Regions from separate parts of the Homo sapiens genome. Here regions 1, 2, 3, 4, 5 and 6 are each linked to region 7. The links are contacts of gene promoters, found by promoter capture Hi-C in blood cells and fetal thymus (Javierre and others, 2016). All regions are on one chromosome and are shown on one strand. Each heading gives the region's core, a stretch centred on a gene start or on the middle of the fragment in contact. The rest is flanking DNA. Distances are from core to core; before and after follow the strand shown. Region 1 overlaps RALBP1 (ralA binding protein 1). Region 2 overlaps MTCL1 (microtubule crosslinking factor 1). Region 3 overlaps RALBP1 (ralA binding protein 1). Region 4 overlaps RAB12 (RAB12, member RAS oncogene family). Region 5 overlaps MTCL1 (microtubule crosslinking factor 1). Region 6 overlaps PPP4R1 (protein phosphatase 4 regulatory subunit 1). Region 7 holds the start of ANKRD12 (ankyrin repeat domain 12).

What was found. Contacts are between HindIII fragments. The CHiCAGO score rates a contact against its expected background, and 5 or more counts as called.
Region 1: a fragment that was not itself captured here is called in contact with the fragment with the promoter of ANKRD12 in region 7 in 2 of 17 cell types (M2 macrophages and megakaryocytes); the score reaches 6.6 in M2 macrophages.
Region 2: a fragment that was not itself captured here is called in contact with the fragment with the promoter of ANKRD12 in region 7 in 1 of 17 cell types (erythroblasts); the score reaches 6.6 in erythroblasts.
Region 3: a fragment that was not itself captured here is called in contact with the fragment with the promoter of ANKRD12 in region 7 in 4 of 17 cell types (megakaryocytes, M2 macrophages, erythroblasts and 1 more); the score reaches 5.8 in megakaryocytes.
Region 4: a contact is called between a fragment that was not itself captured here and the fragment with the promoter of ANKRD12 in region 7, in 1 of 17 cell types (total B cells). The highest score is 6.0, in total B cells.
Region 5: a fragment that was not itself captured here is called in contact with the fragment with the promoter of ANKRD12 in region 7 in 1 of 17 cell types (fetal thymus); the score reaches 6.2 in fetal thymus.
Region 6: a contact is called between a fragment that was not itself captured here and the fragment with the promoter of ANKRD12 in region 7, in 1 of 17 cell types (total CD8 T cells). The highest score is 6.0, in total CD8 T cells.

Annotation. Positions count from the first base shown.
Region 1 is chr18:9,529,498-9,532,798 of GRCh38, reverse strand. RALBP1 (ralA binding protein 1) reads right to left here. Exons shown (of 10, transcript NM_006788.4): 7 at 1,858-1,965. Among named protein-coding and RNA genes, the nearest start is that of RALBP1, 56 kb to the right of the region's middle. The HindIII fragment of the contact is 2,577 bases long and covers 456-3,032 here.
Region 2 is chr18:8,729,784-8,732,887 of GRCh38, reverse strand. All of the region lies in intron 3 of MTCL1 (microtubule crosslinking factor 1), which reads right to left. Among named protein-coding and RNA genes, the nearest start is that of GACAT2, 24 kb to the right of the region's middle. RefSeq lists an enhancer at 2,183-2,477. The HindIII fragment of the contact is 3,262 bases long and covers 1-2,890 here.
Region 3 is chr18:9,489,783-9,493,107 of GRCh38, reverse strand. All of the region lies in intron 1 of RALBP1 (ralA binding protein 1), which reads right to left. Among named protein-coding and RNA genes, the nearest start is that of RALBP1, 16 kb to the right of the region's middle. The HindIII fragment of the contact is 3,051 bases long and covers 277-3,325 here.
Region 4 is chr18:8,624,765-8,627,894 of GRCh38, reverse strand. RAB12 (RAB12, member RAS oncogene family) reads right to left here. Exons shown (of 6, transcript NM_001025300.3): 2 at 2,897-2,957. Among named protein-coding and RNA genes, the nearest start is that of RAB12-AS1, 10 kb to the left of the region's middle. The HindIII fragment of the contact is 4,106 bases long and covers 1-3,130 here.
Region 5 is chr18:8,747,143-8,750,170 of GRCh38, reverse strand. All of the region lies in intron 3 of MTCL1 (microtubule crosslinking factor 1), which reads right to left. Among named protein-coding and RNA genes, the nearest start is that of GACAT2, 41 kb to the right of the region's middle. The HindIII fragment of the contact is 2,669 bases long and covers 268-2,936 here.
Region 6 is chr18:9,608,462-9,611,346 of GRCh38, reverse strand. All of the region lies in intron 2 of PPP4R1 (protein phosphatase 4 regulatory subunit 1), which reads left to right. Among named protein-coding and RNA genes, the nearest start is that of PPP4R1, 4.7 kb to the left of the region's middle. The HindIII fragment of the contact is 675 bases long and covers 1,271-1,945 here.
Region 7 is chr18:9,135,290-9,138,523 of GRCh38, reverse strand. ANKRD12 (ankyrin repeat domain 12) reads right to left here and starts at 1,743. Exons shown (of 13, transcript NM_015208.5): 1 at 1,559-1,743. NDUFV2-AS1 (NDUFV2 antisense RNA 1) reads left to right here and starts at 1,804. Exons shown (of 3, transcript NR_110772.1): 1 at 1,804-2,160. RefSeq lists silencers at 976-1,025, 1,066-1,465, 1,676-2,025, 2,376-2,465, 2,468-2,641 and enhancers at 1,596-1,645, 2,136-2,185. The HindIII fragment of the contact is 1,483 bases long and covers 643-2,125 here.

The DNA of each region.
Region 1 (3,301 bases), core at 495-2,994, 390 kb before region 7:
TTTTTTTTTTTTTTGAGACAGAGTCTCACTCTGTCACCCAGGCTGGAGTGCAGTGGCACAATCTCGCTCACTCCAACTTCTGCCTCCTGGGTGCAAGTGATTCTCCTGCCTCAGCCGCTGAGTAGCTGGGATTACAGGCGCCTGCCATCACGCCTGGCTAATTTTTGTATTTTTAGTAGAGACAGGGTTTCACTATGTTGGCCAGGCTGGTCTCAAACTCCTGACCTCAGGTGATCCGCCCGCCTCAGCCTCCCAAAGTGCTGGGATTACAGACGTGAGCCACCATGCCTGGCCCAAAGGTATTTAAATAGTCAATATTCTGCTTTACCACAATATGCATTTCTAAGATTGGTAAGATCATCAGTCTTATTAAAAGAATGGGGAAAAAATCCCTATCTGCCCAAGATCTAGAGAGCCCCTCTGACCTAGAGAAAAGAAGCAAGGCAGACAAAGCTTAAGAGAGTAACAGAAGGTGGCTGTGGGGATGAGGAGCTGGGTGCGGACGTTCTTTCCAAATGAGCAGGTACTGAGAAGGTAGTTATTTACCATGGTCACATGCCAAAATGAACTACCCACAAACACCAACAGCGCTGAGAACGTCTCTCCAGGAGATGAAGGACACAGTACTGCTCAAATATTTTTGAACACAGATGTCTTTCCTATACCTCTGCATACCTACTAAAGCTGACATTCCAACAAACACCAGACTGAAAAACCCTGAAACAAAGATATAATCTGGGACTCATCCTCTCCTCAAGGAAAACTATGTGCTCCTGAGAGGCAAAACAACGCATGTTTCAGAGGTGACACAGAAGGACTGAAACCTATTGGGCTTCAGGGAAACCACACGAGTTTCTGGAACCCTAGACACACTGTGGTCAGAGCCTAGAACTTCATTCCTTTCTGGTTAAACTCTGGCAATTTCCAGAACAAAGTGAGGCTGACTTGAGAACTTCAGAAAGAAATGAGCTCATCTTCAGCTCTATGCCTGGAATACAGTAGGCACGAAAGGGATATCTGTTAAATCAATGAAGGACTAATAAGACAATTTGCCTCCAACAATTGACTTTCACCTGTAAAGAATAAAATCAAAATATCTAAAAGGTGTTATTAGCAACAACTATTAGATAAAATCTGTTTCTTACATTTCAAGGATTCCAGACTTTGTAATGTCAGGTACAACGGTTTTTAAAATATTTTTAAAAGTCTGATCTCATTAATATGGAACAAGTACCACTAATCTGTAAATTAGGGAAAAGACCTATAATTCGGACCTGTGTGCACACTAAATGAGATTAAACGTCTAGAACAATGCCCAGTAAAGAGTCATTACTGAATATAAGGTAGTTTCTTTCGCCATAACTGAACATTTTAACAAACACAACATAAAGGAAGGGACAAATAAAACAGACACAGGCCCTCAAAATCACTTTATAATTTTGGTTAAAATATTCACATCTGTAGTAGAGCTTCTCAAGTTACTATTTTTAAATGACCATTAAGAGCCTTGCAGGCTGGGCGCGGTGGCTCACGCCTGTTAATCCCAGCACTTTGGGAGGCTGAGGCAGGCGGATCACCTGAGGTCAGGAGTTCTAGACCAGCCTGGCCAACATGGTGAAACCCCGTCTCTATTAAAAACACAAAAATTAGCTGGGTGTGGTGGCAGGTGCCTGCAATCCCAGCTATTCAGGGGGCCGAGGCAGGAGAATCGCTTGAGCCTGGGAGGCGGAGGTTGCAGGTTGCAGTGAGCCGAGATCGCTTCGACGCACTCCAGCCTGGGGGACAAGAGCGAGACTTTGTCTCAAAAACAAAAACAAAAAAGAGTCTTGCAAAAGAGAGAAAAAGATTTTAGGTTACCTGAGCAAGGAGAATATTTATAACTTCTTCATTTTCATTCATCTCTTCTTTGGAAACATCCTCTTTTGAAAGACTGGCTATCTCTTGTGCAATCTTGGTTTCACACTCCTGTCAAATAAGACAAATAAAAAAGAACTAGTCAGCCCATATGTAACACATATTCAACAAATCACACCACCACCAATCTACACGTTTCCTTCTCATTTCCTAGAATTGAAACAATAACAGTCAGATGAACCATCTAGCTGGATGGGCATTTGGTAACTGGGCTTGGAATATAACATGGAGATCTGAGTCTGTGCCTGCACTGTGAAAAATACTCAATTCTGGTGAATGTACTTGCCATTTCTGGTACCCTTCCACAGAAATTACCTATTGTAATACTTAGGGAGGGTGTGGTCAGGAGTGTAAATCTTGAGCACAGAATTTAGTGTTCACAAACATAAAGTCAAGTAACCAGCACCACCATCATGCTCTAGAACGTTTCCATTGCCACACAAAGTGCCCTTGGGCTCCTCCACCATCTGCCGGCATCTAGCAACCCGTCCTGGTCTCCATCGCTGCAGTTTTTCCTTTCCTTGAGTTTCATAACTGAATCAATCAGTAAGTAGTGTGATTATCTGGCTTCTTCCACTTAGCACAATGCTTTTAAGATTCATCTACTTGTCTGTCTGTATCAGTAGTTGCTGAGCAACATGCCATGGAATAAATGTACCCCAATTTGTTTATCCATTTACCAACTGATGGACATTGGGGTTCCTTCTAGTTGTAAGCTATTACAACTAGAGCTGTTAGGAACATTTCGCACATGCTTTGTGAGGGCAAATGCTTTCTTCTCTTAGAGAAATACCTAGGAGTGGGAAGCCTGGGTGCTATGGTAAGTAACCGCATGTTTAGCTTAATAAGAAACTGCCAAGCTGTTTTTCAAAATGGCTACACCATTTTGCATTACCAAGAGCAACCTATTCTAGTTGATGTATACTGTTATCTCAGAGTACTTTTAATCTGGATTTCCTTAATGACTAATGATGGTGAGAGTCTTTGCATGTGCTTGTCATCTATATATGATCTTTGGTAAAGTATTTGTTCAAATTTTTGCCTTTTAAAAATTGGTTGTTTTCTTATTAAACTGTAAACTTTAAAAAAAAAATCAAGTCCTTTATCAGATACAAGCTTTTGCAAATATTCTGTCGCAGCTTCTGGCTTGGATATTTATTTTCTTAATATCTGTTGAAGAGCATATTTTTAAATTTTTGATGAAATTCAATTTATCAAATTTTTCTTTTATAGTTTATAATAGGTTTTGTATCCTATTTAGGAAATTACTGCCTAAGCCAAGGACAGTAAGATATTTTCCTGTTTTTTTTTTCTTCTGGAAGCTTTTTTAGTCTTAGTTTATGATTCATTTCAAGCTATTTTTTGCATATGTTGTACAGATAAAGTT
Region 2 (3,104 bases), core at 10-2,509, 410 kb after region 7:
GCTGAAGGTCACACGAAAGCATATCTACGATGCAAGGAACAAACACACACCTAACTGCCCCCACCCCCAACATTCTTTCAGGGGAGAATAACCACCCTGTACAAACAGCCATGGGGAGCGGCACCCTGCCAGCACCTGGGGTCCATCCTCTCTCTGGGGCTTATTCTCAGGTCAGAATTCAAGTGCTGCCTGATTACCTGCCCAACAGGGAGACATTCAGTTGGGCTGTGTAACTATGTATGGGTGACTCGGCGTCTTTTCAATGCGAATGATTTTTTATTACCAGGGAGAAAAAAACAACACAACTTGCTTATTTGGCTCATAATCATACCATTTCAACGTACGATGGCTCACTTGAGTCTGAGCAACACCAAGAAACAGCACTCAGGCCGTAGAGAATCCTATGGAGTATTTTCTAAGCATTTCTATTTCTCTGACTCTTGATTCTGCACTTGAAGATAAAAGTTACCTAAATTAGCCAAACACGGCAGCTCACCCCTGTAATCCCAAAACTTTGGGAAACTGAGGTGGGAGGATTGTTTGAGCTCAGGAGTTTGAGACTAGCCTGGGCAACATGATGAGACCCAGTCTCTACTAAAAAATAAATAAATAAATAAATTTAAAAAATCAAAAAAATTAGCCGGGTGTGGTGGCACACGCCTGTAGTCTCAGCTACTCGGGAGGGTGAGGCAGGAAGATCCCTTGAGCCCAAGAGGTCAAGGCTGCAGTGAGCCATGATCCCTGGGCAACAGAGCGAGACCCTGTCTCAAAAAAAATGAAGATTAAAAGAATAAAGTTACCTAAATTATATTACATCAATAACATGACTTGTAGCATATAAATTCAACAGACCCCAAGAGAATCAAATACAAATTTTGAGGCGGGACACAGTGGCTCACGCCTGTAATCCCAGCACTTTGGGAGGCTGAGACAGGTGGATCACTTGAGGTTAGGAGTTCAAGACCAGCCTGGACAACATAATGAAACCCCGTCTCTACTGAAAATACAAAAATTAGCCAGGTGTGGTGGTGCACACCTGTAATCCCAGCTACTCAGGAGACTGAGGCAGGAGAATCACTTGAACCTGGGAGGCAGAGGTTGCAGTGAGCTGAGATCACACCACTGCACTCCAGCCTGGGTGACAGGGTGGGACTCTGTCTCAAAAAAAAATTTTTTTTTTGAGAAGAGCAGTAGTTTCTATTTTTCCCATAGCACAGACAATGCTACAAATTTGATGCAGTTTACTGCCTAGTGAAAGTCTAAATTATTCAGAAATATGTGCTGTCTATATTTTAATTATTATTTTTTTTCTTGAGACGAAGTCTCGCTCTTGCCCCCCAGGCTGGAGTGCGATGACGCGATCTTGGCTCACTGCAACCTCTGCCTCCCAGGTTCAAGCGATTCTCTTGCCTCGGCCTCCTGAGTAGCTGGGATTACAGACGCCTGCCACCATGCCTGGCTAATTTTTGTATTTTTAGTACAGACGGGGTTTCACCATGTTGGCTAGGCTGGTCTTGAACTCCTGACCTCAGGTGATCTGCCCGCCTCGGCCTCCTAAAGTACTGGGATTAGAGGCATGAACCATCGTGCCCAGCCTATTTTAATTATCATTATTATTATTTTTTACTTTTTTATCTTTTTTTGAGATGGAGTCTTGCTCTGTCGCCCAGGCTGGAGTGCAGTGGCACAATCTTGGCTCACTGCAAGCTCTGACTCCCGGGTTCACGCCATTCTCCTGCCTCAGCCTCCCGAGTAGCTATGACTACAGGCGCCCGCCACCACGGCCGGCTAATTTTTTGTATTTTTAGTAGAGATGGGGTTTCACCGTGTTAGCCAGGATGGTCTTGATCTCCTGACCTCGTGATCCGCCCACCTCGGCCTCCCCAAAGTGCTGGGAAAACAGACGTGAGCCACCGCACCCAGCCAATTATTTTTAAGAAAAGCAGCAAGCACAGTGTCTGTTTCACTACAAGTCAGAGGTTCCATTCTAACGTGTAGGTAAAATGCTGAAACGCCCTGCACATTATCAGAGATTCCCATCTTCCAAGAAAGGCTGTCTTAGAGAAGGAGAGAAATAGATGGATCTTCAATCTCTCAGGAAGTCTGCAAAGTAATGTTCACACAGCATCGCTGCGTCCAAGGTAGCCATCCCAAGGGTGCCATAATCTGCCCTAAAAGGTCCCCCGGAGCCTGCAGTGCTGTGGGCGAGACTGCACAGGAAATAAAAAGAAGGCAGCTGTACAGCGCACAGGGGACAAGCCGGCGTTGTCCAAGCCCAGCGAGGAGCCTGGCTGACGTTCAGGAAGTTGATGAACAGAAGCGGCTTCGCTTATCACTAACCAAACAGGCCAATTTCATGACTCACAGTCATTGTCAAAAAACTTGACCTACAGTGGAATTACTGGCCTTTATTAACTATCCTTAGGTAATGATATAAAGAATCAGAAATTCCTCAGCAAGAGATTTTTAAATAATGTTTTGGCTCTTTCTCAAGGGAAAAATAAAGATGATAAAACCTTCACCCATGGAACAAATATTTATCCAGCGTTTCATAAGGACGGGGCTGTGTAGAGAGACACAGACATACCAAAAGGCAAAGAGGTGAGTGGGCCAAAATGCCATTGAGGGATCAAATGGGATTCGGATCTGCTGGCTGGCACGGACTCCGCACCAAGAAAGCACTTTCAGGACATATATAGCTAAGTGATCAAGGCTGGGTGGCTCTGGCAGAGATCAATGGAACAGAGCAGAGAACCCAGAAACAGACCCAAACACATGTGCCCAACTGATTTTTGACAACAATGCAAAAGTAATTCGATGGAGGAAAGGTGGCCTTTTCAACAGACGGTGCCAGAGTAACTGGGTGTTCACAGGCCAAAAAAATGAAGCTTGACCTAAGTTTCATAGCATATACAAAAATTAATTCAAAATGGATCACAGACATACATGTGCAATGTAAAACAATAAAACTTTCCAAAAAATACATAGGAGAAAATATTCAGGATGTAGGGTTAGGCACAGAGCTTTTAAAATTGATACCACAAAAGGAATCATTCTTAAATTGGGCTTCATAAACTAAAAACTTTTGCCCTGAGAAAACCTTG
Region 3 (3,325 bases), core at 553-3,052, 350 kb before region 7:
TAAGAAAACAATTCATTTTGTTTAAATGGGCAAAAGACCTGAACAGGCACCTCACCAAAGATATGTAAATGGAAAATAAGCACATGAGAAGATGCTCAGCATGCTATATCATTGGAGAACTACCAATTAAAACAATGTGATACTACCACATACCATTATTATGGCAAAACCCAAAATGCTACCACCACCAAATGCTGGCAAGGATATAGAGCAACAGGAACTTTTATCCATGGCTGATAGGAATGCAATATGGCACAGCCACTTTGGAAGAAAGCTTGGCAGTTTCTTACAAAACTAAACATACTCTTCCTATATGATCCATCAATCGCACTCCTTGGTATTTACCCAAATGAATTGAGAACTTATGTACATGCAAAAACCGGCACATAGATGTTTATAGCAGGTATATTATAAATCCCCCCAAAAAAGGCAGCAATGGATAAACTGTGGTATATCCAGATAATGGAATATTATTTAGTGCTAAAAAGAGATGAGCTATCAAGTCATGAAAAGATACAGAGGAAATGTAAATGCATATTACTAAGTAAAAGAAGTTGAGCACAGTGGCTGACAACTGCGATCCCAGCACTTTTGGAGACCAAGGTGGGCGGACTGCTTAAGCACAGCAGTCAGAGAACAGCCTGGGCAACATGGCAAAACCTCATCTCTACCCAAAAAAAAAAAAGAAAAAATTAGCTGGGTGTGGTGGTGCACACCTGTAGTCCCAGCTACTTGGGAGGCTGAGATGGGAGGATCACCTGAGCCTAGCAGGTAGAGGCTCAGCAGTGAGCTGAGATCCCAGCGCTTCACCCCAACCTGCACGACAAAGCAAGACCTTGTCTCAAAAAAAAAGACGTTAATTAAAAAGGCCATATGACATTCTGCAAAAAGCAAAACTATAGAGACAGTAGAAGGATTAGTAGTAGCCAGGGTTTAGGGAGGAGGAAGAAATGAATAGGTGGAACACAGAGGATTGTTGGGGCAGTGAAGCTATTCTGTATTGGTACTTTAGTGGTGGACACATGTTCATTATTCATTTGTCTAAACACACGGAATGTACAGCATACCAGGAGCGAACTCTAACACAAACGCAGCTTTAAAAATAAAGTCTATTTTTGTAAAAGGTTAAGAAACACAAAAATACTACAAAAAAATGACACATTACCTTGAAAAAAAAGAAAGACTTAAAAGACATCAACCAATTGCCATGTATAGAGCTTATTTGGATTTTGATTTGAAAAAATTGTTAGGGGCCGGTCATGGTGGCTCACACCTGTAATCCCACCACTTTGGAAGGCCAAAGCAGGCAGATTACCTGAGGTCAGGAGTTTGAGACCAGCCTGGCCAACATAGCAAAACCTCGTCTCTACTAAAAATACAAAAACTAGCTGGGCATGATGGCGTGCACCTGTAATCCCAGCTACTCAGGAGGCTGAGGCAGGAGAATCGCCTGAGCCCAGGAGGCAGAGGCTGCAGTGAGCCAAGATCGTACCACTGCACTCCAGCCTGGGTGACAGAGACAAACTCTGTCTCAAAAAAGAAAAGAAGTGAAAAAATAGTTAGGAAAAAAAGTTATGAAAATCAGAGAAATCTGAATATTAATTCAATATTTTATATTAAGAAACAATTGTTAATTTTTGTTAGTGTGATCACTGTGTTGTGGTTAGAGATACACACTAAAATATACCTGGATGAAATGATATGACATCTGGGTTAATGTATGGGATGTGGTACCAGAGGACTTGGGGGGACAAAGGGCTCCATTTGGGTCCTACTTAAATTTTTGAAAATATATATATTAATTTTTATAATTTTCTTCAAAAAAATTTCCTAAAAATGAGATTGAGGAAAAAATTACCTTAGATTATTAACTACTGATATAGAATAACAAGTAGGTCTAATATCACCCACGATAGTTAGAGAAAATCCTCAGCTGACAATTCTAAGTAGAAGTTTCCTTAATAGGTGATCTGTAAACATTTAAATGTAGAGAGCTGCTCAAAAGTTATAAAGTGGTCAATTATCTTGGTTGGGTAAGTAAGAACCACCACCCCATGAAGATTTCAGTTAAGGTGTATTGGTTCGTTTTTATGCTGCTGATAAAGACATACCAGAAGTTGGGAACAAAAAAAGGTTTAATTGAACTTATGGCTCCACATGGCTGGGGAAGCCTCAGAGTTATGGCGGGAGGCTAAAGGCTCTTTTTACATGGTAGTGGCAAGAGAAAATGAGGAAGAAGCCAAAGTGGAAATCCCTGATAAACCCATCAGATCTCAAGAGACTTATTCACTATCAGGAGAATAGCATGGGAAAGACTGGCTCCCATGATTCAGTTACCTCCCTCTGGGTCACTCCCAAAACATGGAATTCTGGGAGACACAATTCAACTTGAGATTTGGGTGGGGACACAGCCAAGCCCTATCACAAGGTAACATTTTAGAGGAAAGAAATGGAAAATAGGAATAAAATTACTGTCTAGGATATAAAGGTACTGCGTAAGAATTAACAGCAGCTCACATTTGTAATCCCAGCACTTTGGGAGGCCGGGGTGGGAGGATCACTTGAGGCCAGAAGATGGAGACCAGCCTAGCCAACACGGTGAAACCCCATCTCTACTAAAAATAGAAAAAATTGCTGGGCATGATGGTGCACACCTGTAATTGCAGCAACTCAAGAGGCTGGGGCATGAGAATCACTTGAACCCATGAGGCTGAGGTTGCAGTAAGCCAAGATCATGCCGCTGCATTCCAGCCTGGGTGACAGAGTGAGACTCTGCCTAAAAAATAAATAAATAAATAAATAACAACAGCTGCTGCATTATTTCCTGGAATTAAATAAAATCTGGAGACAGAAGTAAAAATACTAATCTTACGCAGGCAAAATAGGCCAAAAGTCAAGATTTGGAATTAAAATGTTACATAGTAACTAAACTCTTTACTTACATAGTGAATTATTTTGATTAAAGAAAAGCAGAAAGTAAAAGCACTATTTACTAAACCATGATAATAAAAGTTCAAATTAAGTTGTTAAAAGTAACAATCATTATTTGTTTAAAAAAACTTGTTACACACACCACACACACACATTAGCAGATTGTTCCTGTCTTGTAACTTATATTCTATAACTCGTTATCATCATGTAAAACTATTCCATCATTTAGACCTAAAGGAAGGAAATGATGCTTTTATGGCTTCAGTTGACTACAAAAAAATTTTATACAATCATAACGCTTCTAAGACATTAATTTGAAAAGTAACCTGAGGAATATCTGAAGAAGCAAACTCTAATGTTGTAATACAGTTTTTTTTTTCCTTAAAATGCTAAG
Region 4 (3,130 bases), core at 290-2,789, 510 kb after region 7:
AATTTTCAGGGCACACGCCAATATAGGGTATGAAATATTCCCCCTCTTCCAAGCAGAGAACAAAAGGAATGATGCTGACCTAAGAACGCTGGTTAAAACAAAGTCCCCCAACAGTGGACTGGTCCGACAGGCAGAACAAAGGGCCCTTATATGAAGCATTTCAATTCTGTGTTTGCCTAAAGGTAAGAGGCAAATTTCACGGCTTCAAGTCCATTTCAACACAACTCCAAGTTCACTGTAAATAATTTCTAGGACACCATTTGGATATAAATTCATCAAACTACATCCTAGTCAACATGTTTTATTTTAGCTACTTACATAAAGTTCTAACATTCATGTAGAAATACTTTAAAGTACAGAGAAGAGAAAAATGGTCCTTTTTCTGACCACAGGTAATCAACAAACTGAAATATGTGGCAATGACATAAAACGTGACGTAAAAATGTAACAGACACCTGCAGCTTTTGGTACTTTTAGCTTTTAGGAATCTATAGTAAATAATGCACTTCTTCCAACAAGATCCTCCTATGAAAACCGAATGGCAATGCTTTCATGCCAGTCTAGAAAATCGGAGCAGAGCTATCTATTATTAGCATAGCACAATCCACTGCGCCTCCTTGAGGGACCGTTTCCAGCTACACAGGCGCCTTCTATGCCCTCAATGGATGAGAGTGAAACGACGACAACACGCCCACAACAAAGCAGGTTACACCAGCAGCAGCACAAGGGCTGTGCCTCACTCCTAAAGAAGCCACGCATTACTTTAAAACAGTAATACAAATTACAATCATGATTCTAACACTTCCTTTTTACCTGCTGCATAGCAATAATGAAGGAAAAGGTTTTCATCTTTTAAATAAAATATTTCAGAAGATAAAAATCTTATTTTGAGTATTATGTGATCAACAAAATGGCTGGCCTGTAGTAGATATATGAGTCACTGTTCAAAACCTTCCTGCAGGAAAAGAGTCACTGGAATATTCCATGTAGAAAACTTGCAATCAACCATTCCGTAAGTCCAATCCATTTCATTCTTCCTCCCTTAGTTACGCTCTTTGCCCATGCTGTACAGCTGCACAGATTTAGAGAATGAAAAAGTAGTAAAGAGTCAAGGGAGAATCAGGAGAGGGAGAGGGGTCATTTGGAGAATGCTTTCATATACAAGAGAAAAATGGTTTCTGAGTGCCCGCTGCTCTTCGTGGAGCCACAGTATCTCACTTTCTCCCCGAGGGGGATTCCATCAGGTAGGGCCCTCTTATCTCAGAGTCAAGGACATTGTAGTCAGATTCCAGGAGTGTACAATGTCACCAGCATAGACTTAGTGGGCAGAGCTCCAGGGAGGCACCAGGACATTTGGACATACTTTATAAATCATTTGGACATACTTTATAAAGAATACTGCCGCCAAAGATGAAGATGGAAGTATTAATGCATTAATTAAGACATGTGCCACAGTCATCAGGCATGGCTGTCACCAAGGCAGGCGTCACACATTCTAATAATGTTTACATCACTTTTGTGGGGCAATATTCTCATCAGAAAGTACCTCACACAGGTACTAGGAACAGAGAGAGGCATATCCCAAATCCTTGTGAAGATGGTCTTTACCTTATAGAGCTTATAATTAGAAACAGCAGCTTGTGTGCCAAACACTTTGTTGCCATTTCCAGCGTTTAAAAGCTGGGCAGCAATGCACAAAAAGTCTGCGGGACTAGCACAGGAAGAAATATCTATTTGTTGTTTATTCAAGTATTTAGACAAGACCTAATGTTTCATAATCAAGCCAAAAATGAAAATATGCAGACCAAATGCACAACAGAAAAGAAAACGAACAAAAACCCAAATCAAAAAATCTTAGAAGTGTGTTATACAGTGAAGGGTGACCAAATGAAGATATTACCTCAGACACCTCCAGAAGGCAGGCACTGCGGCTTGGCTGCAGCTGCGGCCCAGACAGGGACACGGATGAAGAATGAAGACATGGCACTAACATTCAAGCATTAGGTGACCGATGATGCCACAGATGAAGCAGCAATTAACGCAGATGAAAGCAAACACACACATGGTGGACAAACAATCAGAGCTGAGGGTGACCTGCCAAGAGGAGTTAGTAAGCTGAGTACACCGCAGCTGTAGCATTCAAAACAAAACGGCATTCTCAGAGCACCTCAATGGGGCTACTTTTAAGCCACCGCCAGACCACCAGACCAGATCTTATCCCTTCTTCCACAGACAGGTCGCTAGCACCTGCGGGCTGTTAACAGGTTAATAGCTAACAGAAAGCTCTTAGTGCTGAGTGCAGTTATAACACAGCTGGTTGAGTCTCTCATTCCAATTGTGATTTGAGAAAGGGGCCTGGATTCATTTCTAGTAGGCATTAGTGGGGGCTCACATCCCGTGGAATCAGCAGTACAGCCGGAAGGAGTATGCCCACCCGCAGTAATAGTCACATTGTGCCACCAAGAAGCTCTGGAACTGTCTGCAGGGGACCTGCCTTCAGATTGTGCAAATCTGGTTATGAACATATTGGGCTTTCTTTGAATACTATCATACAAAATAAAGACATGAAGACAAACATTTGAGCAATCATTTTAGTGGAGACAGTTTTGATATCACGTAAATAATTTGAAAATAGAGGCAAAAAGGTTCCAAACTAGCTACCATTAAAGTAACATTCTTCTGTCCACAACTGCTCCCCATGTGCAAGTGGCATATAACATAACAGCCTTATCTAAATTCTCTCTCTTGATGGAAACACTGTCCATTTAATTTTAAAATGAGCAAAAGAGGAGAAAGTAGGAGAGGCAAATCAGCTCAAACAGTTCATTTTATTAGACAAGTACATGGACTGTTAAACACACACAGCACATTACTGGGTGCACACTCTCCCACTTACCAGATCTGTAATCTAATTTTCTTTCCTCTTAGCTCTACAGTTTTGATTTTGAAGTCAACACCTGTAAATAAAACAAATAAATGTGAAGCAAAAACAACAAAGATGCAATTTGTCATACAAAATAATCCTATTTGTGTATTTTGTTATCATTATCAGAAAAAAAGAAAACCCCACGAAACCTGACATCACTTAATTCCAAGGAAAAGCAGTATCTGCACCAGTGTCTATAACCTC
Region 5 (3,028 bases), core at 353-2,852, 390 kb after region 7:
GTGGGAGGCTGAGGTGGGAGGATCACTTGAACCCAGGAGGCAAAGGTTGCAGTGAGCCGCGATCACACCACTGCACTCCAGCCTGGGTGATGGAATGAGACTCTGTCTCAAAATAATATAAATAAAAATAAAAACAAATATAAAAAATAAAATGACATTACCATCCAGCTAACAGCAACTTTAATATTCCCTATGGGTTAACAGAAACAAACTGAAAATACAGTTTTATGTTAGTCTTAGTAGTAAAGTTACTCTTAGAGCAAAGCTTTATTTTACTGAAACATCGAAACAAGTTTATAGCTGGGTCCCAACAACTCAGTTTTACAGTTGCAGACACTGAAGTTCAAGCCATTAAGCAACCTGCCCGAAGTCCCATAGTTGCCAAGGAAAGAATAGGCCCCCATGTCTGTACGATCCAGGATCATGCCCTAAGCCCTGTTCGCTGGGGTCCAGGGCCAGGGCCAGTGGGAGGCACTGTGCTTACAGGTATTTACAGGTGGCCAAACCCCATCCCTGTGCTCTTGTCACTCTCTCGGGCCCACCATTGGATCTGCCCAAGCTCAGGCTCTGCTTTCTTCTCACTTAGGCCACGGCCACAGCCTCTCCACTGGCTCTGTCTTCTCACTTCACTCTTCCTCCACTTACCTTCCAAAGATATAACTGCCCATATCATTCTCCCTTGAAAAACCTCCTGTGGTTTTTCAACCACAGCACCCTCTGCCTTCAGAGTGCATCGAACACCCTGAGCCAGGACCCTAGATCCATGTGGTCCGTCCGCAGCCAGCCTGGCCTCTCCATACACCTTGCCTCCTGCTATGGTGACAGCATGGCTTGCAGCCCCAGGCTGGCCAACTCTTAACCTGTCCCTACTGTCCTCCCCACCCTGATATAGTGTCATTACTGGTAAGGCCTGAGGCAGCGGCAACTGCATTTGGGGGTGCCACAGCACACCTGTCATTCTCCAATTGCTCTCCCATGCCTTTATGAAATGAGCTTGCAGATGCTGCATAAGAAGGGATGTCCCAGGAATGGAAAATGCTGCTGGCTGATCGAAGGCTCCACCTTTTAATGCTGCCAAACAAATAAAATATCTCACAAGGTCATCTGAGGCAAGTCCAGGGTCTCCATTTATAACAGAACTAAAAGTAGAGATGATGTGTGCCATTTTGACGGCAGCATCATGTGCTAGCAGAGTGAACAGAGGACACCCCATCTGTCCTTGTGCACAAGAAACTGCTTTGAAGGAACTCAATCTCTTAGGTGACTGTGATGACCCCCAAGAAGGAGCTGTGATCACCTGAACATAAGATACAAAGGTCCCCTGTCAGTTTCATTTTACAAACCACATGGCTTCCTTCACTGAAGTCTTGCCTCAATCCAGTGACTTCATCCCGAAAGACAGAACTGGCTAATACCCTGAACTCATGTTAATATTACTATTAACGTTAATACAAAAATATATATGTATATATACACACACATGTAGAGTCTTCAGAATTTATTTACATATATATAAACTGAATTTATTTCGGGGAGTCACGAATATATATATTCAGAATATATATATGTGTGTATATGTGTGTGTGTGTGCATATATATATATACACATACATACATATATTTGGAGACAGGGTCTTGCTTTGTCACCCACCCAGGTGAGAATGCAGTGGCACAATTATCATTTACTGTAGCCTTGATCTCCCGCGCTCAAACGATCCTCCCATCTCAGCCTCCCAAGTAGCTGGGACCACAGGTGCATGCCACCATGCCTGGCTAATTTTTAAATTTTGGTAGAGATGGTGTCTCACTATGTTGTCCAGGCTGGTCTCCAATTCCTGGGGGCTCAAGCGATCCTCCTGCCTTGGCACCTACTAATATACGAATATATTTAGTGTTGTGAGGCCTCTTCAAGAAGACCTACCTGGCAGCTTTGTGCAAAACTGACTGCAGGGGAGGGATGGGGGCAGGGGTCCGGCTTGGTGTGAGGTCTGGGCACCTCAGTTCAGTGCAGGCAGAGAGACTAGAAAGCAACAGGGCAGAACCAGGAAACTGTGTGAGGGAGAGAGCTGACAGGGGTGCAGAGCCCCAAGTGAGGCGGCCACAAGCAGTTCTGAGGGGTATGGTCTGGGGACGGAAGACCAGGGGCACCAACATGACCTGGAGGTAGGACACAGAGCTTAGGTGTGTGGGTGACAACCAGGCAGCTCTCCTCACAACCTGCCAGTGGGACTCCAGCATGGGGCACACAAGGAGGACACAATGAGGACAGGAGCCTGTGCAGGGCTGCTGAGGCTATCCATCTGGAGCCACTCAGGAAAAACACAATGCAGATAATTATTAACAAAAAACAGAAAATGCGAGCCCACTGATCCTGTCCTCGCAGGGCAGGGCAGTGTCAGATTCCAGCGAGACTTCCTTAGGGCTTACTCAGCTTCTCTGTTTTCCTGTATGTTGTGGGCTGAACTATTTCCCCAAGAAGATATGTTCAAGTGCTACCCCCAGTGCTGGGGAATATGGCCTTATTTGGAAACAGAGTCTTTGCACGTTTAGAGGAGGACCTACTAGACTGCATGGGCCGGATCCAAGATGACTGGTGTCCTTATAAGCTGAGGACGAGACACACACACAGAGAAGGCAGCTGAGACTCAGACACACAGGGAAGAGGTTGTGTGATGACAAAGGCAGAGGCAGAGATTTGGGTGGCTCAGCCACAAGCCAGGGAGCAAAGCACCAGGCATGGAACAGACTCTCCCCTAGGGCCTTTCCAGACAGCGTGCCCTGCAGGCACCTTGATCTTGGACTGCAGCCCCCACCACAGGCCAGGGAGCAAAGCACCAGGCATGGAACAGACTCTCCCCTAGGGCCTTTCCAGATAGCATGCCCTGCAGGCACCCTGATCTTGGACTGCAGTCCCCACTGCTGTGAAAGAATAAGCTTCAGGTTCTGAAGCCGTTCAGTGGGTGGGCCCTTGGTTGCAGCCGTACTAGAAAAGACAGAGTCAGTACCTGTGTGGACCAGTGGTGTCCAG
Region 6 (2,885 bases), core at 359-2,858, 470 kb before region 7:
TTATAACACGGTTGTTATCTCGTGAGCCTGAGTTTCTCTGTCTATGGTAAAACTCCAGAGTATGGAGCCCAACCTCCAGAGTAGTTGTAAACAAGTCCTACTACTTCAGCCAAGCTAGGTGTAAGTTGGCCCTTGGGATGGGAAGAAATTGTTTTCTGGTCAAGCTCTAGAATCTTGGTTGACCTTCCTAAATGCAGAACCTGGACTATGAGGGAAGAGACAGTAAGTTCTGTTGTGCAGATGATCTAGGAAAGGACCTAGCTGGAGTCTAGGACTTGAAAGAGGGGCATTGCCAGACATTGCTAAGAGTCTCAGGTCTTTCGATTTGATTTGTTTTAATCCCGTCTCTGTACAGAGGCACAGAGTCGGGGAAAAGGTTGGTCAAAGACTGACTTGACTGATAACCTTTGGAGGAAAAAAAATCCTAATGAGGGAAAAATGGATGGTATTTGTGTGTGTGTGTGTGTGTGTGTGTGTGTACACATAATTTCATTGAAGGAGTTTCATTAGAACTTAAACTTTTATCAAGTAACTTATAAAGGTAAGTAAATGAAATCATTATCAGGTACTCTTAAATTTAGGAGAATAGGCTGGGTGCAGTGGCTCATGCCTGTAATCCCAGCACTTTGGGAGGCCGAGGTGGGCGGATCACGAGGTCAGGAGATCGAGACCATCCTGGCCAACATGGTGAAATGTCTACTGAAATACAAAAAAAAATTAACTGGGCGTGGTGGCGTGCACCTGTAGTCGCAGCTGCTCAGGAGGCTGAGGCAGGGGAGTTGCTTGAACCCAGGAGGTAGAGGTTGCAGTGAGCCAAGATTGTGCTACTGCACTCCAGCCTGGCGACAGAGCAAGACTCCGTCTCAAAAAAAAAAAGTTTAGGAGAATAATGCAATAAAAACCATATGTATTTAAGTTTAAAAGTGAAACTTTCAGTACTGTATCATGAAATACTTTGAATTTCAAATTGAAAGCAAACCAGTGACTCCATTTGAACATAGGTTATCTCAGCAGATTTCAGAGTTGGGTAAACCCTTTTTAACTTTTTATATTTAATTATGTTCCTTAAATAATGGGAGACAATACAAAATTGTAGATGTTTAGAAAAAATTATTTCAGATTTCTGTTTTAGTTTCCAAAGATGCAATTTTGATTCACATTTAAGTTGGTAGATTCCTAAAATGAAATGAGACTAAGATACGGTTAAGATTTGATGAGCCAATGCTTGTAAAAATAATTTCATTGAAGGAGTTTCATTAGAACTTAAGCTTTTATCAAAGTAATATGTTGAAGAATGTTATTTTTAAAGAATGGCTATGTAACGCTTAGTTTACAGTGCCTTTCATACACAGGTTATTCTTCACAGCAGTCCTGTGATGTGTAGGCTGTGGTATTCTAATACTAATAAGTAAGTTGACTAATGCCCAAAGGGACTAAAGAAACAAAACTCCTAAGTTTAGACGGAATTTTAAGCTAGGCCTTCTGATTCTAAATATCATATTTTGAATATTTTCTTAAATGGCCCAGTTTAAAATATTGATCAACCCAAACTTGTACAGGCAATTTCTTTGAACTCGTTCTTAAAGTACCCTTGAAAATTAATCTGGGATGCTGCATGTGGTTTAGTTTACACCTGGAGAATGATAGAGAGGATGGAGCTTGGGTATAAGACAGCTTATTTAGTCGTTAACTTTTATCTCAGCTGTAACTAAGTATGACGTTGAAAAGTTTTTGAAGCTATGTTATTGAGTATGCCATACAACAGACTTTTTTCATATTTAAGTTTTGGAATCCTTTTACATTATGCTGTTTTTCGGGTTTAAGGGCGGTGTTGAAGTAGAGTGAAGGATGGGTCCAGAACTAACTGAGGGTAACCGCCTAGACCGCACTCTGTGCAGAATCTTCAGGCCTTCCTACCATGTTTCAAAACCAGTTCTGATAAGCTTAGAGTCCTTGCTTCCGGTGGGAGGTGAGGAGCAAAATATTGGGGCTGTATCTGGTAGTGGCCAGGGAATCATTCAGAAACCTTTGGAAGGTGCCCTTGAACGTGAATCATATTTAGGAGTATTGTTAAATAGGGATTTGGGAGGGTGAGTCGTGAGACCTGGTAGCCTGTTTTGACTGCTGCCAACAAGCCTGGATGGAGAGATCTTTATTTAGAGATAATATCATTGATATCTTAGAAAAGAGTGCTTTTAAAATGGTTTCAGTGGTACCCACATGTGTGTTGGATCAATTAATGATACCTCTGCTAACAACTTCCCACATAAAATTGAAAGAGAGAGAGAGAGAGACAGAGAGAAAAACCCCTTTGTAAATATGCTTGGGCCTGTAGCTACACGATCCACTGCCCTCCCCCCTCCAAAAAATAAAAAACCAAGACACCTAAATGCATACTTTTTGTTTGTTCCTGCCTGTGAAAGATAAATAGACCTCAGGAGGTAAAGTTCAGAAGTCTGCTGCCACATTTGTTTGATCTCTGGTTTATTATTTCTGGTCCTTTTCTCTCAGTCTCCTCAAAACAATGAATGTATGTTTATTAAACTATTGTTACCTTGCTCCTATGTTTGTATTACATCTTTTTTTTATATTTTGGAGTAAAAGAATTTGAAAGTTCCTAAATTTGAATTAGAGTTGTGTTGTTGTTTTTAAATTGGAGCTGAGAATAAACCTAACTTAGTGTTTTGGGCAGAAGTCTGGATGGCACACCTATGGAATTTTGGCTGAGGAGGTATTCCCTCTAATTTCTATAAGAGGGTCTGGAACTTGCTCTGCTTTTAGCACAGATCTTTGAGCTGGTGACATCATCAATGCTGCTTCCTCCACATTCATTTCTTAACTCTCCTAACTTTTAAGTCATCTTAGCTTCTTATCTCCCTAGACTA
Region 7 (3,234 bases), core at 494-2,993:
GTATGTTTTTGCGACGGAGTTTCGCTCTTGTGGCCCAGGCTGGAGTGCAGTGGCACGATCTCGGCTCACTGCAACCTCTGCCGCCCGGGTTCAAGCGATTCCCCTGCCTCGGCTTCCCAAGTAGCTGGGATTACAGACATGCGCCACCACGCCTGGCTAATTTTGTATATTTAGTAGAGACGGGGGTTTCACTATATTGGTCAGGCTGGTCTCGAACTCCTGACCTCAGGTGATCTACCCACGTCGGCCTCCCAAAGTGCTGGGATTATAGGCATGAGCCACCGCGCCCGGCTGTGCATATGTTTTTAATACACAGTTAATTTACGATAAAATAGCTATTTCACTAGCCTTTCTTTATAATTTACATAAACCATTCTAAAATGAAAACGAAATACATGACTGCAGATGCAGGCTCATTTCAACTTTAGGATTAGAGGTAATTCCGAACCATTACATACACAGCACTGGATCTGCAACACACTTCACCTTAGTTCGCAGTTTAACCACGGGTGTCCAGTGGAAATTACAATCCCGGTGACTACACTGCTTTAAATGTTTCCTAAGGTTTCAACGAGTGCAACAGTAACTTCCTATCCCAGACAGCGTCTTACTGTTATTACTAAAACAGCTGTCAGCTAAGCTTCGCATACCTCTTTGTACAACCGTTTATTCAACGCTTTGGGATCTGTAAGGATGCGTCACTCCACATCACTCCTCAAAACGAGATCTAAGAACCTGACGTGCTCCAGGGGTCTTGAAGCATCACAAGTGGGTACTTGAAAAACGATGACGGGAACTGCCTGTCCAATGCGGCAAGGTTATTTTACACTGGCATTTAAGACAGAACTGTAGAGTGGCTGCTCTTTCCCCGGACACTACTAAAGCAGCAATTTCCCCTTCTTGATTTCATCCACCTCTCCCAGGACCCGGGTACCTCCGACGCTCCCGGCCCGAGCGGCCGCGGCAGACTCCCCGGCGTCGGCGCACGCTCGGCGGCTGGCGGCGGGAACGCGCGGCGGGCCGGGCGCGCCCCCGCCCCCGCGGGTCCGACCGCCGCACGCCAGCGGCGCCCTCTCGGCCGCGCACACTCACACTCGCACGCACACGCTCCTCCGGCCCCGCCATGTTCCGGGAGGCGGCGGCAGCCCAGCCCCGCCAGCCGCGGTGAGGGGCGCCCGCGACGAGGCCAGCTCGCGGCCCTCCGCCCGGCCCCCGCCCCGCCCCGCGCAGCGCCCCCGCCCAGTTGGCGGCTCCCACCTGCGCCGCGGCTCCTCGCGACGCCGGGAGGGGCGGCGGCGGGCGGGGCCCCGGCGGACCCGCGCCGGGGGGCACTAACGGCCTGTCACTGTCAGGCGAGCTACGGCTCGGGCCAGGCTGGGCGGGCGGCGCGTCGGGACCGGGGGGGGCGGGCAGGGCGCGTCCCCTACCTTGCTCTGGGGAGGGGGAACGGGAGCAGCGCAGAACTGAGGGGATCTCCTCCCTGGCGCCGGGGACAAGCTCGAAACCGCGCCCCTCCTTCCTCCTTTCCTGTCGCCACGCCCCCCTCACCCGTACGGACCCGAGGCAAGGCCGGCGCAGGAGGCTTCACCCCCGGAACGAGTGCTTCGGCGTAGCCGTCGCTGTCGTTGTCTTCGTCGCCGCTGCAGCCGCCTGTAAAGCCGCCGGAGCCGGGCTTGAAAACATCTCCGGTCTCGGTCCGTCTCTCACCACAGCCTCCTCGCTCCCAGGACAGCGTCGCCCCGCGATTGGCTGCGACGCGAGCACGTGACACCCGCGGACACGTGACTACCGCGGGCACGGGACGGGCGGCGTGACCGCCCCGCCCCCCGGCGCCCGCCCCTCCTGCTGCTCAGCCAGGCTCCGCGAGCCGCAGGGCGGGGAAGCGGGACGTACCAAGCGGCAGGCGGCGGAGGGGTGCGGGCCGGAACTCCGCCCTTCGTGCTGGTCGGTCTCCACGCCCCACTCGGACTAGTGTCACCGCCTCCCCGCCGCAGACACTATCCGACAAAGGAGGGGGAATCAAAGGCTGGGCGAAGAGGCAGGGCAGGCGCCGGTGACGCTGCTGGGCAAGCGGGCTCTGCAGTAGCATTTGTGGCGACCGTGGCAGTGGCTGTGACTGGAAGCTTCTGGAAATGGCGGCGATGAGGACCCCCACATAGGGTATTCACCTGTTATTTTTACACGGGGTGGGTGGACGAGCGTGATCCAACTCAGGCAAAATGACGCTGCGACCGCAGCCCGAGGACTAGGCGAAGTTCCCCCGCTAAGCCGGCGGCGGCCGTCTGGCCCCGCACCAGGCCGGAGAAGCTGCACCTACGCCCAGAGCCCGCGGCCCCCCGCCTCAGGTGGGGCCCTGGGCCCCGCCCCGAAAGCGCGGTAGCGTGCACCTGCCCTGGCACCAGGGGGTCTAGAGCGCGTCCCCTCCCAGCCACGCCTTCCAGTGGCCTTTTTAAAGAGGAATTCAGTGCACCCTCCCACACGTAGTGTTGGGGATTTGAGAGGGAGCTGCTCAGGTACTAGGAAGGGTGCCGGAGGAAAATTGACCGTCGCAGCGTGGCAGCAGCGTGTACTCACTCCCTTCTGGGCGCGTTATTTACGTAGAGGTTAATCTGCAACAACAGCGTCTGTTTATGACTTAGTGCATGCAGTTACAAGTTTATGTTACACTGTCCTTTAACGTCTTGATGAACTGAGGGTTCAGGTGTGATCACAGCAGATGAAGTGACATTCAGACCTGACAGGGACGGCGAGGTCCCATCAAATTACTATGTAAAGCATAAACCTGCATTAAAGATCAGGAGTTTTTCCTTTCCTGGGTTCCTGATTTCTCCCACCTACAAATCTTTAGGGTCAACAAGACTAGAAAAAGAGCACCTTATGGCTAGAGGTGGAATAGTGTTACATTTAACTTGGTTATTTATGATGTGAAATACAAAGAAAAAAACAGTCGCCTATGAGAAAGTCAGGAGAGCTCCAGGGTAGGACATTTTCATTGTTACTTTTTTGTGCCACTTGGAAAATTAACTGTTGTTTACCTTCTCTCAATTAAAAAAAAAATCTTAAAGACATACTTAAAAATAATCGTTATAGCCGAGCGCAGTGGCTCACGCCTGTAATCCCAGCAATTTGGGAGGCTCAGGCGGGCAGATGGCTTGAGCCCAGGAGTTTGAGACCAGCCAGGCAACATAGTAAGACCCTGTCTCTAAAAAAATATATGAAAATTAACCAGGCTGG